Linked DNA regions of Homo sapiens: regions 1, 2 and 4 are each linked to region 3. The links are contacts of gene promoters, found by promoter capture Hi-C in human tissues and cell types (Jung and others, 2019). All regions are on one chromosome and are shown on one strand. The core of a region is centred on a gene start or on the middle of the fragment in contact, and the rest is flanking DNA. Distances in the headings are between cores, read along the strand shown. Region 1 holds the start of SERTAD3 (SERTA domain containing 3). Region 2 holds the start of HNRNPUL1 (heterogeneous nuclear ribonucleoprotein U like 1). Region 3 holds the start of RPS16 (ribosomal protein S16). Region 4 holds the start of PSMD8 (proteasome 26S subunit, non-ATPase 8).

The links. The method cuts DNA at HindIII sites, captures the fragments that hold promoters and counts their contacts. A contact is called where the count stands out against the background at its distance.
Region 1: a contact is called between the fragment with the promoter of SERTAD3 here and the fragment with the promoter of RPS16 in region 3, in 1 of the 25 tissues and cell types used here (thymus).
Region 2: the fragment with the promoter of HNRNPUL1 here is called in contact with the fragment with the promoter of RPS16 in region 3 in 1 of the 25 tissues and cell types used here (small bowel).
Region 4: a contact is called between the fragment with the promoter of PSMD8 here and the fragment with the promoter of RPS16 in region 3, in 2 of the 25 tissues and cell types used here (heart right ventricle and liver).

What each region holds. Positions count from the first base shown.
Region 1 is chr19:40,442,940-40,446,080 of GRCh38, reverse strand. It overlaps SERTAD3 (SERTA domain containing 3), which reads left to right and starts at 1,746. Exons shown (of 2, transcript NM_203344.3): 1 at 1,746-1,866. It overlaps SERTAD3-AS1 (SERTAD3 antisense RNA 1), which reads right to left and starts at 1,564. Exons shown (of 2, transcript NR_187496.1): 1 at 1,453-1,564; 2 at 818-1,191. RefSeq lists silencers at 1,215-1,434, 1,495-1,814, 1,995-2,054, 2,520-2,899. The HindIII fragment of the contact is 14,341 bases long and covers 1-3,141 here.
Region 2 is chr19:41,262,700-41,265,900 of GRCh38, reverse strand. HNRNPUL1 (heterogeneous nuclear ribonucleoprotein U like 1) reads right to left here and starts at 1,529. Exons shown (of 15, transcript NM_007040.6): 1 at 1,103-1,529. The coding sequence starts at 1,397. RefSeq lists silencers at 1,004-1,053, 1,074-1,143, 1,234-1,473 and enhancers at 1,479-2,017, 2,018-2,557, 2,558-3,097. The HindIII fragment of the contact is 10,725 bases long and covers 1-3,201 here.
Region 3 is chr19:39,434,370-39,437,646 of GRCh38, reverse strand. It overlaps RPS16 (ribosomal protein S16), which reads left to right and starts at 1,698. Exons shown (of 5, transcript NM_001020.6): 1 at 1,698-1,799; 2 at 1,939-2,040. The coding sequence starts at 1,752. RefSeq lists enhancers at 1-261, 1,925-2,504 and a silencer at 1,445-1,544. The HindIII fragment of the contact is 40,426 bases long and covers 1-3,277 here.
Region 4 is chr19:38,373,110-38,376,426 of GRCh38, reverse strand. It overlaps PSMD8 (proteasome 26S subunit, non-ATPase 8), which reads right to left and starts at 1,856. Exons shown (of 7, transcript NM_002812.5): 1 at 1,466-1,856; 2 at 195-267; 3 at 1-75. The coding sequence starts at 1,825. RefSeq lists enhancers at 1,547-1,686, 1,317-1,947. The HindIII fragment of the contact is 16,024 bases long and covers 1-3,317 here.

The DNA of each region.
Region 1 (3,141 bases), core at 497-2,996, 1.0 Mb before region 3:
TCCCAGAGGTGGCCTGGAGAAAACTGCCTCCTCCCCTTAGGGAAACTCGTTGTAGGGGCGGAGCATTACGGGTGTGGGCTTTCAGGACACTAGCAGTGTCTTCTTTCTGCCTTATTTTTCTGTCACATTCCTGAGCATTTAGCAAACTTTCACTGGGACCTGCTACGTGTCCAGCCCTGTGCTAGGTGATCCTGCAGACCAAGAGGTGGTTGACAGAGATATCCTTGGTACCTGCCCTCGGCGGGGCGTTCCTCAGTCCATATAGTAACTGACAGTCCAGGACTGGGATGGCGGCACAGGAGGCCATGGAATCCTAGAATGGATCCTAACCCAACCTGGACTGCCAGGGAGGGCTTCGGAGAGGAGGAAACCTTTGAAATGTGTTCTGAGAAGCAGCCTGGGAATTGAGGGTATATTTTGAGGATGAGGAAACAAGTTTAAATATCCAGAGGCGAGAAGATTGCTTGAGGCCAGGAGTTCAAAACCAACCTGGGCAACACAAGAAAACCCCCCTCCCCCCTCCCCCATCTCTCTGTCACCCAGGCTGGAGTGCAGTGGCACGATCTCGCCTTCACTGCAACCTCAACCTCCCAGGTTCAAGCGATTCTCCTGCCTCAGCCTCCCAAGTGGCTGAGATTACAAGCGTGCGCCACCACGCCCAGCTAATTTTTGTATTTTTAGTAGAGACGGGGTTTCACCATTGTTGGCCAGGCTGGTCTCAAACTCCTGACCTCAAGTGATCTGCCCGCCTCCGCCTCCCAAAGTGCTGGGATTACAGGCGTGCGCCACTGCGCCCGGCAAAAAATAATATTAATAATAAAGATCCAGAGGCCTTTTATTGTCATGTTTGCGAACTTATTATGTACCTGGCATTGTTGTAGACACTGGGGTAAAGCAGGGAAGAAAACAAACAGAGAAAATCCTTTCGTTTTCCTGATGGGGTGAATGGGAGCTTGAAGCCATTTTAGAAAAACTGGAAGTGACTCAATGGGGCAGGATCGGAGAGAACCAGGAGAACGCATCAAGCAAGGTCGTGAGGGGCTTTGTGGCAAAAGGAAGGAGTTTGAAGTTTGTATTCGGGGTGGGTAGGAAGCCATGAACAGTAGCAGAGGAGTCATCTTGATGGAGCGGGGAAGGAAAGAGGGTGTCAGAAGACCCAGGTGGGACCACCAGAGGACGTGCTGAGAAAACCTGAGGATTAAGAAGGGGCCGCGCGGTAACGTATAGGGGGCGGGAGGGGCAGCAAGGGGGCGAGGCTACGATCGCCTAGGCAACGCGGGCCGCGCCACTCTATTGGCTGGTCTTCCGCTACGTCATCCCCCGCGCCCCAGCGTCCTCCCTCGGAACCCCGGGGGCGCGGCCTCCTCCGGTTGCTCGGCCCCGCCCGCCTGCACAGCGACTTGGGGAGGGGCATGCCAGCCCCTCTGGCTCCACGGTGGAGTCCAGGCCTACCATAAAGGAACCGCAGGGAGCAATGGTGACGATCTTGGAGCGAGGACTGTAGCTGAGTGGAAGGAAGCGGTTCTGTTGGACCGGCCGCCCTCCACCCCGGAGTCGCTGCCCCGCCCCCTGCCAGTTGCACTTCTTTAAATGGCCCGGGGCGCTAGGGAGGGGTGGGCGGATCCGGCGTCTCGGGGCACGGGCGGATGGCTCCGCCCAGCCAATCGACGCCCCGCGGCGGGCGGGACTCCAGCCAATCGCGGCTCGCGGCTCGGCTCCGGGGCGGGGCTGGTGGGCCAGAGGCCAGACGGAGAGGCCCCGCCGAGGTGAGCGAGGCTCCAACCGGTCACTGGTGGGTCCTGGCACTGGCGGGTCGCAACGCTGTGGGCGTTCCAGGAGGTGGTCGTGGCGAACCTGGCAGCTGCGGTGAGGAGTGGTCGCCTGGCTTGGGAATTTACCTTAGGCTGGGGGAGAGAGAAGCGCGCCCCGGGGACTTGCGGAGGCGGGGTCTGGGTGGGACCGGGGGAGGGGGCCTCAGATTCAGGGTGATGATAGGGAGGGTCTGGGGACCTGAGACTGAGTTCAAGACCCAGGAGGGGAGGCGAGGTTGTTGGGGCAGTATTTTCAAGTGGAGGGAGTTTGAAGCTGGGACGTTGGGCTTTTGGAGAAGCGAGAGAACAGAGGGGAGGAACTTTTGAGACAGGGAACCTGGAGATTCGATTCCACTTGGGTCTTCCGGACGGGTTGAATTCGGGGCTTTATCGTGTTCTGGAAAAGGTGTGAGAGGTACGGAGCTGAGATTCTGAGTATTTGGAGAAGCGAGAGAACTAGGGTCAAGGATTCTTGGGACTCCAAGACGCACTGGCGGGGGAAGGAGGTTGCCGGGAAGAGTTCAATGTTCGGGTCTTGGAGCCGGACAGCGAGTTTGGAGGTGAAGTCCAGGGGCGTTTGAAAGTCAGGAGACTAGGAGAAGTGGGAGGAAGTATCAGAATTAGGATACGTAGTCTCCCGAACTAGATCGGAGCATTGTCGTCTTTGAGCGATGTGTTCGGATCTGGGTCTCTGGATCCAAGGGCAGTTTGGAAGGAGAATCGCGGACTTTCAAGGAACAGAGGGACCGGGAGAAAGCAAATTTAGAGCCGGAGTCTGGGGTGGGGGAGGGGTGTTCCGGGCCTGGAGCTCAGACTCGCGGCCCCGGAGGCAATGGAGGGCGGGGCTCGGCAGGCGCCGGCAGCTGGACGTCCAGGTTCCCTTCCCCCACCCGCCTGTGCCCCTGTGCGCATGCCCTGAGGGAGAGCGGGGTGAGGGGGGTGGCTCGTCCCCTGGACGGGCGGAGCCCTCTGGGGATTGTAGTGCGTGCTCGACGTCAATTCGTGTACCTGGCGGCTGTTGGCCCCCGTTTCCCAGAAGCCCCTGGGCCAAATTGGGGCGTTCCTGGATGCTCTGTAAGGACCCATGGGGGGGCGGGGCCTTACAGTGTCGCGGTCTGATTGAGTGGGACCTCCGAGGGGGCGGGGCTTGGTCTGAGCTGAGTTCTAGCAAGTTTTCCTATGGGGCGCGCTTTGGGGGAATCTGAAAGCGTGGGCAGAGGGAATGAGACAGGCCCCTTTCCTACTCTTGGGAGCGCTCCCAGTCGGTTAAGGAAGAGGACATAGAAATATCCCGACTGTTGAAGAAGAATCTCAACATAGGTTCCCCAAC
Region 2 (3,201 bases), core at 280-2,779, 1.8 Mb before region 3:
GAAGTCAACAGGTTTCTTTCTCTTTGCTCCCTACGGCCTCCCCCCTCCCCATATTCGCTAAGCCAGATACGTACTCCTGTGCTGGACACAGGATCCTCTGTCTCCCGCCACATATTTCATCCACTTGGAATGTTACCAACTCATCTGCCCCCATCCCACCCCCAGCTACCCTCTGTTCTCCAAAAACCCCACAGTTAGCTCCAGACCAGTCAGCAGCAGCCTCAAGAGTTATTTGCCCTCAGTTTTCTTAGCTCTAGACCCCCAGATCCTTTGTCCAGGAAAGCATCCTCTCCCCCGCCAGCCTCTGGACACCAGGGCTCCCTATACCTCTTCTAGAAGCCAACCAGAAAGTCCCCAGATCTCCCAGCACCTAATGTCCAGGCTGTGCCTGCTTCAAGGGTGGCCTTCCAGCCCCGGAAGAGAGATGGGGGTGCCCCCTAGTTCAATCTCCCGCAGCCCCTAAATGCTCACTAGCCAAACTCCAAAGCACTGAGTCCATTAGGACCCTCCCCAGCCACAGACACCAGCGCCTCCACCTCTCCCACCCACCCCCGTACCCAAATAGGAGAACGCCCAGGATCGCATCCAGCGGCATATTCCAGGATCCTCCTTCCTCAGAACTCTCGCAGCCCCGCACACCTGGACATTCCTTCCCCACCCTGGAAACACGGCTCCCCACCCCCCAGCCCACACGCTGGGCTAGCACGACCGCCAAGCCCACGGAGCTCCGTACCCTAGGATCCCCATTTTCGAGACCCTCCCCAACCCAAACGGAAAACCTCTTGTTCTTCCGACTCTCTTCGGCTCCAGAAAGCAGTTTCCGGTCTCCGATCCCTACGGTACGGAATCCTCCCCGCCACCCCCGTCCCTCACCTCCGAAACCCAGAGGCCCCTCCCCCAGTGTCCCCCCTGCACTGAGTGTCAGGATCCACCCTCCGGTCGTGCTGGGGCCCTGGTCCCCAGATCCTTTTCGGCGGCGGGTAGCGGGATCCCCCGATCCTCAGGTCGTCTCCCCGACCTCAGGCGCTGGACTCCCGCGTCCCACAGCCCTTTCCTCGGCCCAGGCTCCGGGCTCCCCGGCCCCCGCCCCGCGCACTCTCACAATGTCCGTCCGGCCCCGAGTAGCCGCCGGGCTCCGCGTGCGGCTGCAGCCCGGGCGGCGGTGGCTGCGCGGTCCCCTCCAGCTCGGAGCCCCCCTCGGTCTCGACCTCCTCGTTGATGTGCCCGGGTCGCCCCGGTTCGTCGTCGGCGTCGAGCTCCCGCTCGTCGTCAGGCTCCTCGGCCTCCAACGCCGCCTGCAGCCGCTCAGCAAGCTCGGCCTTGAGGCCTCGAGTGTCCAGGCCGCGGCGCTGCAGCTCCTCGCGAAGTTCGTTCACCTTCAGACGGCGCACATCCATGGCCCGGGCCCCCGGGGTGGCCCCCGAGCCCGGCCCGGCCTCCCAGGGCTCTGTCCCCCTTAAACCTTTCCTGTCAGGAGGCGAAGGGGGAAAGGGGGGGGGCCCACTCCAATGGCGGCAGCGGCTCAAAATGGCCGCCGCCACCGCCTCCCCCCTCACTCGTGCCTCGTCCGATGTTACATGAGTGCCAATTGGTCAGTGCGTGGGGCAACGGGCGCGGGCCCGGAAACCTAGCCAATCAGAGCGCCGTTTTCAAAACAACGGCCACGAGAAGGCCTAGGAGCTACTGGGGAGGAAGCGTTGGCCTACGTCGAAGCCGAGGCCGGAGCGGAGGGCGGGAAAAGGCAGGAGGCGGAGCGCTTGCTGATTGGGTAACTCTCGCGCGCCGGCTGCCGTAAGGTCCAATGAAAATAAGGGAGTAACAATTTGGTCCAATCAACGGTAAGATCTCAGAATGAGTGTCCCACGGCCTTTCCTGCGCAGTCCTTTCATCAAACTAAGTGTCTCTGTAACACACATTCCGATTGGTGTACATCTCCCGCCCCTTGAGGAGTCCGAGCGGGTAAAACCACTAGAACCAATCAAATGGAGGGTCGGCAGAAACCCCTCCTTCCTGTTGCCTTTAAGAAACCGGAAAGAGATGAATTCACCAGGAGCCCGCCCCTTGCCGTTAGGGCGGTTTCAAAACAATCTGCCCACCAATCGCAGTTATTGTCTTAGCTCACTAAAGCTGGTAGCGATGGCTCATTTTAGGAAAAGTTCACCAGATTGGCCGTGCTTCAGAGGACTGCCTCACAAATTTCGCTGTAGGAGGAGGTATACGAAATAGAGATTAAGTGGATACACAGTTCGTAATCTGGAAGGAACCCAGTTGCCTTTAGGAAAAGCAAAATTTTGAGTTGAGAGAGTCCCGAAGGTTTGGCTATAGAAACTAGACTAACAACGGGAGGCAAGTTGTAAAGGACACGGCCTCCCCTTCCCTTGGGTAGTCCGCGGCCGCCTTGCTCTATGGTCGGGTACCTGACGTGGAACGGGCGCTCTGCACGCGACCATAGAGCCTTCCCCTCCCGAAAGACATCCAGAAGTTCACCGACCGCTCTCCCGAATCCTCTAATCGGCTGTTCCCGTAAATCGGGCTGTCTGGCGTCTGTACCGACAAGCTCAACCCCACGGATCCGTCATTAACCTTCGCGCTCAGGAATACAAAAGCCACAGAGCTTCCCAGTGTCTAACGCTGCACCACCTGTCGCCTCTAACTCAAAACAAAACTCGAGTAAGACGCAATCGGGATACATGATGCAGACTCCCACTGCCTCCTGAGCCACACGTTAAGCCCGCAAAAGCCACACACTATCTCTACTCAGACAAAGGCACACCCCGCAGTCGTAAACAAACAGGCGTGCGTCAGATCAGACGCATCCAGTTCTTTTTTTTGTTGTTCTTTTTTTTTTTTTTTTTTTTTTGAGACGGAGTCTCGCTCTTGTTACCCTGGCTGGAGTGCAGGGCCTCTATCTCAGCTCACCGCAACCTCCGCCTCCCGTGTTCAAGCGATTCTCCTGCCTCAGCCTTCCGAGTAGCTGGGATTACAGGTCCCCGCCACCATGCCCGACTAATTTTTGTATTTTTAGTAGAGACGGGGTTTCACCATGTTGGCCAGGCTGGTCTCGAACTCCTGACCTCAAGTGATCCGCCCGCCTCGGCCTCCCAAAGTGCTGGGATTACAGGCGTGAGCCACCGCGCCCGGCCCCAATTCCGATCTGCTTTGGGTAAGGCACCCCGCTGCAGTGTAGATGTGCCCACTACG
Region 3 (3,277 bases), core at 449-2,948:
GGTGATTTGGGGGAGAGGAAAAAGATGACTGGGAGATTCTGGAGAAAGAGATTCTAGGGGCTGGGCGCGGTGGCTCACGCCTGTAATCCCAGCACTTTGGGAGGCTGAGATGAGTGGATCATTTGATGTCAGGAGTTCGAGACCAGTCTGGCCAATATGGTGAAACCCCGTCTCTACTACAAATACAAAAATTAGCCGGGCGTGGTGGTGCATGCCTGTAATCTCAGCTACTCAAGAGGCTGAGGCAGGAGAATCGCTTTAACCGGGGAGGCAGAGGTTGCAGTGAGCAGAGATCATGCCACTGCACTCCAGCCTGGGCGACAGAGCAGGACTCTGTCTCAAAAAAAAGAAAAAAAAAAAACAAAAAACAGAGAGATTCGGCCGGGCGTGGTGGCTCACGCCTGTAATCCCAGGACTCTGGGAGGCTGAGGCGGATCACATCACCTGAGGTCAGGAGTTCGAGACCAGCCTGGCCAACGTGGTGAAACCCCATTTCTACTAAAAATACAAAAAACGACCAGGGCGTGGTGGTAGACGCCTGTAATTCCAGCTACTCGGGAGCCTAAGGCAGGAGAATCTCTTGAACCCGGGAGGCGGAGGTTGCAGTGAGACGAGATCGCACCACTGCACTCTAGCCAGGGCAACGAGCGAAACTCCGTCTCAAAAAAAAGAGAGAGATTCTAGGGTGGGGACGGGGAAGAGGTTAATTCTTGGGGGAGGGTCTCTTAGGAGAGGGGGATTCTAACGGAGGGAAAACTCCAGGGAAGGCAGTTGCTGGGAAGAGGAGTCTCGGAAGGGAAATAAACTCAGGAGAAAGGTAGATTTTGAGGGACGGGTCTCTGAGAGAAAAGTTTTTGTGGATTTGCGGGGCGGGGTGTTCTGGGAAAGGGGGATTTGCCGGGAAAGGGGGATTTGCCGGGAAAGGGAGATTCTGGAGGAGGGAGATTCCAGGGGTACTGGGTCCTGACAAGAGAAAGATTCTGGGAAGGGTGACTGAGGGGACGAGGACCGAATGGAGGGAGATTCAGGGAAAAGGGGGGTCTAAGTTGAGCACTCTTAAGAGGGACATTTGGGGTTGGCCATCTGAGAGAAGGATGGGAAACATTCTGGGAAGAGGAAACTGAAAGGAAGGACATTCTGGTGAAAGGGAGATTCTGAGGGGAAGGGGCTCTGAGGGGAAAAGGATTCTGGGAGAGGATCCCCAAGGAGGGGGATTCTAGGGAGGATAGGATTCTGGAAGTCCTTAATCTGAGAATCCAGCCAGATTTCTTGCAGTAGATTCCAAAGGAAGATTCTGATGCGGGGGATTCGGGGAGGAGGGAGTCCAGAGGGGAGAAAGATTACAGGTGTTGGGAGGGTGGGAACTGATTTAAAGAAAGGGCGAAGGGAGATTATTAAAGAGCCAGAATGCAAAGAAGAGCTGCGGTAGTCGACTACAGAGGACGCGAAGCACACTCCCGCAGCCTTCCCTTCAGTCCGCACACGACACTCCCAGGCCCCGCCCCTTCCGCCCACAGAGCCCGCCACTTCCGCCTCACAGGGCCCGCCCGCTCTGAGCGCCTAAGGGCCTTCCCGCCGCTGACCAGACGCCCCGCCCGTTAGCCGCAACAGAAGCCGTAAAGCTCTCTCCCGTCGCGACGCAGTGCTCAAGGCGCCTGCGCAGACCCTGAAAAGCGGCCAGGGTGGCCCCTAGCTTTCCTTTTCCGGTTGCGGCGCCGCGCGGTGAGGTTGTCTAGTCCACGCTCGGAGCCATGCCGTCCAAGGGCCCGCTGCAGTCTGTGCAGGTCTTCGGACGCAAGGTGAGCCAGACGCCGGATGGGAAGGGGAGGGGAAGGAGAAGGCCAGGGTCTGGGAGAGGTCGGTGGGCAGGAATCTAGGGGGTAACATGGGAGCTGGAGCCGGAGCTCACGGGGCCCCTGTTTCTCTTGTATCTTACAGAAGACAGCGACAGCTGTGGCGCACTGCAAACGCGGCAATGGTCTCATCAAGGTGAACGGGCGGCCCCTGGAGATGATTGAGCCGCGCACGCTACAGTACAAGGTGCTGGGATCCGGCACCGGCGTTGAGTGGATGGAGGACTCTTGGAGACAGAGATGTTGTAGCTCTTGAAAGCTGGGGGGGCTGGCATCAGCAACGGGATGTTTAGAAGTTGTGTTGGGTGTAGAACAGTGGGGTATTTGGCAATAGAGCTGGGCTTGGGGTTCAGAAGATGTAAAAGCTGAGATGGGGTTGTTGAAGATTAAGGGTTTGCTTTGAGAACTGGGATGTTAGGAAGCTCACCTCACTGGGGCGGGGGGACCCAAAGGGTGAAGGGACACCGACTATTTTTTATTTTATTTATTTGTTTTGAGAGGGAGTCTCGCTGTGTCGCCCAGGCTGGAGTGTAGTGGCGCGATCTCGGATCACTGCAACCTTCGCCTCCCGGGTTAAAGCGATTCTCCTGCCTCAGCCTCTTGAGTAGCTGAGATTACAGGCATGCACCACCACGCCCGGCTAATTTTTGTATTTTTAGTAGAGACGGGGTTTCGCCATATTGGCCAGAGTGGTCTCGAACTCATTACCTCAGGTGATCCACCAGCCTCGGCCTCCCGAAGTGCTGGGATTGCAGGCGTCAGCCACCGTGTGCGGCCGAATTTGGGTCTGTTTAAATGCTTGCTTGTAAAAGGGGTTCCTCTGTTCCCTTTTTGGGACTCTCAATTTCTTTGGCTCAGAATGGAAAGAAACCAGAGTCTGATTTCTGCCCCTTCTGAACTCTACTACTTTTAAAAGAAAGAATATCTACATTGCAGGGTCAGTTAAAAAAATTTTTTTTGAGTTATAAGGTTCTTTTTTAAAAACAGTATCTTGCTGTCACCTACCCTGGAGTGCAATAGCACAATCCTAATGAACTGCAGCCTTAAACTCCTGAGTTGGAGATCCTCCCACCTCAGCCTTTCGGTTGCCAAGACTACAGGCACATCACCACGCCTGGCTCATTTGAGAAATATTTTTCTGTAGACGTGGGGTCTCACTTTATTGCCCAGGCTGGTCCTTGGTCTCATGTGATCCTTCTGCCTGGACTGGGATTACAGGTGTGATCACCATGCCTGGCCTAGAATTTAATAAAAATTCTGAGATTTCCTTTGTGTAGCAGATGTTGAATGTTACTGTTATTGGCTGTCACTGTATTTGAAGGATTTGTATGTGTACCCTCTGTTGAGTTTTGGGGACATAGCAGTGATCCAGATGACTTAAGGTCTTGCCTTCATGGACCTGCCAGCCTAGTTGGGGAGAAGGA
Region 4 (3,317 bases), core at 607-3,106, 1.1 Mb after region 3:
GGGCCATGTAGCGCTCGAAGGAGGGGATGTCCTTGCGTAGGATGCTCCATTGGGCCCCGATCTCCAGTATGTCACCTGTGGGTGACAGAGTGAGCTCTCAGGAGGTGACTGAGGTCTCTTCCCCAACCACCAGTGCTACCATTCCTGCCATGACCCCCAGATTATCACCCCCAACCAACCCCAGTGACACTCACGGGCCAGAATTAGCTGCTGTTTGGTCAGCTTGGTCCCTGTGGTTGGCAAGAAGTTGAGCTCCAGAAGAACTAGCTGATGGGGAGGGGAGGGAGGGAAGAAAGAAAAGAAGGGAATTCAAATACAGATGACTTACCTGCTCTACGCTCTGGTCTTCCCACTTGGAAAATGGAGCTAACCATCATCCAGACTCATGAGGAATGCTTTCTCATAAAGCACTCAGAACAGGGCCTGAGCACGCAACACATGCCCATTTAAGATTACATCACATTACAATTATTAATAGCCCCACTGGGGAAACAAGGAGGGACACTCAGTGCCTGACCCAGTGGAATCACGCGGCGGTGGGGACAGGAGTACATTCCATTCTTGGCCCATCTTCCCCACAATCTATTGGGGAAGGGGTAGCTGGGCTATCCCCAAAATCTATATCTGGGAGGGGGAGGTCCAAATCTCCCCCCACAGTTCAGCCCATACATCTTTCCTTAGCAGGCTCAGCAGCTTGTTCCAAGCCACTGGATTTACACTCCCTCCCAACAGATGTTTGGTCTGAAGCACTCTGGGCCCCGTATTCTTGTTCTCTACTTGTAAGAATATTTCTTCTAGGTTCAGTCCTGCCTTCACAACTAGGCTGCCCCCTCTCCCAACAGATGCGAGCCTAAGCCCCAGATCTCTCAGATCCTAACCCAGCCTGGTCTTAACCACACACCCTCTACACAGCCCACCTTTTCAGCCTCATTCTTTTATCACTCCGGGCAGTCCTCACTTCCCACTTGGTCTTGCCTGGAATCCACCATCAGGAAAAGCCCGAATCCCAATCCTGCCACTCCGACCAGTTAAGCCTCCACGCACCAAAAATCTAACCCCTCACTCAGTTCTGCCATAAGTCTTCCAATCATTCCCCCACCACCCCCGCGTGGGTCCATTCCAGTCATCTCTCACTTAAAAAAAAAATGTAGAGACAGAGTCTCGCTATGTTGCTCAGGCTGATCTTGAACTCCTGGGCTCAAGCGACGCTCCCCCGCCTCGGCCTCCCAAAGCGCTGCGATTACAGGCGTGACCATCAACGCTCCCTGTCCCTCTCTCGCTTCTTGACGCCCTCCGAGCCCCCACTTTGGCTGTTCCAAATCTTTCACCCCATCGGATCCCCCAGCCCGCCTCAGTCTCGCTGGCACCGAGGTGGCTTCCGCGGCCCGGGACTTGGTTGGGTCCAGACACCTCGTAGCGCCTCCCACGCCCGCAACACTCGGTTTCCTGGGCCTGCCGACTTTACCTTGAGTCGACCCAGCTCTTCCCCGCACTTGCTAAGATTGGGGCTTTTACGGTTCCACTCGCCCTTGAGTTGCTCGTACATGCCGGTCGCGGCCTGCAGAACAGCGCCCGAGGTTGCCGCGGGCCCGGAGCTCGAGAAGCCTGCCGCCCCGTTCACCGCCGCGGCCGCCATCTTGCGTGATGCGGCAAGCAGACCGCCTGATTTACGGCAGCGCCGCCTACAAACGCTTGCCCGGCGGAAGTGGGGCCGAGAGGTGGAGCCCAAGGCCCGGGGCGGGGCTACAACCTGCCTCAGCCCGCCCCGGGTAGCCCGCCGTCGCTCTCGAGGTGGCGCCCTCGGAGCCCTGCCCTTAATGAACATGTCAGTTGGAGCTCCGCCTCTGTCGTCACTCAAGATGGTGACCGGAAGTTGGCTTTTGCCCTAACTGAAAATGACAGCTGTCTCAACACCACCCCCCCTACCCACCTCACGGTTCCAATAATGAACATGGCTGCCCTGGCTTCAGTCTGAGTGCTCGGGACGCTACGTAGCTGTCCTGGAGGTTCCGCCTTCGGGGCAGCGTCTCCAAGCCAAAAGGTAGCGGGTGTCGTGCCATTTGGAGAGCTGTGTTATTCTCATTTTATAGACAGACTGAGAGGCTGGGTAACCTTCCAAAGGACTAACAGCTAGGATGTGTACCTGGGGCTCCCTCTCCAGTCTTTTTCAATGCATCCTTCCACATTTTTTTCCCAAGCTTATATGAACTAACTAGTTACAAAACTCATCCAGCTCTATGGCTTTCAATGTCATGTGTAAGTGGAGGATTCACAATTTTTTTTTTTTGAGACGGAGTTTAGCTCTTGTTGTCCAGGCTGGAGTGCAATGGAGCAATCTTGGCTCACTGCATCCTCCGCCTCCTGGGTACAAGTGATTCTTCTGCCCCAGCTTCCCAAGTAGCTGGGATTACAAGCATGTGCCACCACGCCTGGCTAATTTTCGTATTTTTAGTAGAGACGTAATTTTAGTATTTTTAGTAGATGTTGGTCAGGCTGGTCTCCAACTCCTGAACTCAGGCGATTCCCTGGGCCCTGGCCTCCCGAAATGCTGGGATTACAGGCATGAGCCACCTTGCCTGGCCAGTATTCACAACTTCTTATACCAACTTCTTCCTCCACTGATTGATATTACATCTGCACATTCAACATCGCTTTTTCTCTCTTTTTAAAAAAAATTAAATTTTTTATAGAGACAGAGTCTCATTATACTGCCCAGGCTGGTCTCGAACTCCTGAGCTCAAGCGATATTCCTGCCTTGACCTCGCAAAGTGTTGGGATTAGAGGTGTGAGCCACTGCGCCTGGGCAGCACGTTTTTCTCAAACCCGACTTTCACTCTCCGTCTCCACCATTTAGAATGTCATCTCCATGAAGGCAGGACGATTTCCTTCACTACTGAATTCCCAGTATCTCAGTGCTTGGCAAATATTAGTAGACAGTCAATAAATATTTGTTGGCCAGGCATGGTGGCTCATGCCTGTAATCCCAGCACTTTGGGAAGCCGAGGCAGATAGATCACTTGAGGTCAGGAGTTCGAGACCAACCTGGCCAACATGGCGAAACCCCATCTGTACTGCAAATACCAAAAAAAAAAAACAAAAAAACCAGCTGTGCGTGGTGGCACACACCTGTAATCCCAGATACTCAGGAGCCCGAGGCAGGAGAATCGCTTAAACCCAGGAGGTCAGCTTGTAGTGAGCTGAGATTGTGCCGCTGCACTCCAGCCTGGGTGACAGAGTGAGACTCTGTCTCAGAGAAAATAAATAAATAAATGTAAAAATACCAAAAATTTGCCGGGCGTGGTGGTGCACATCTGTAG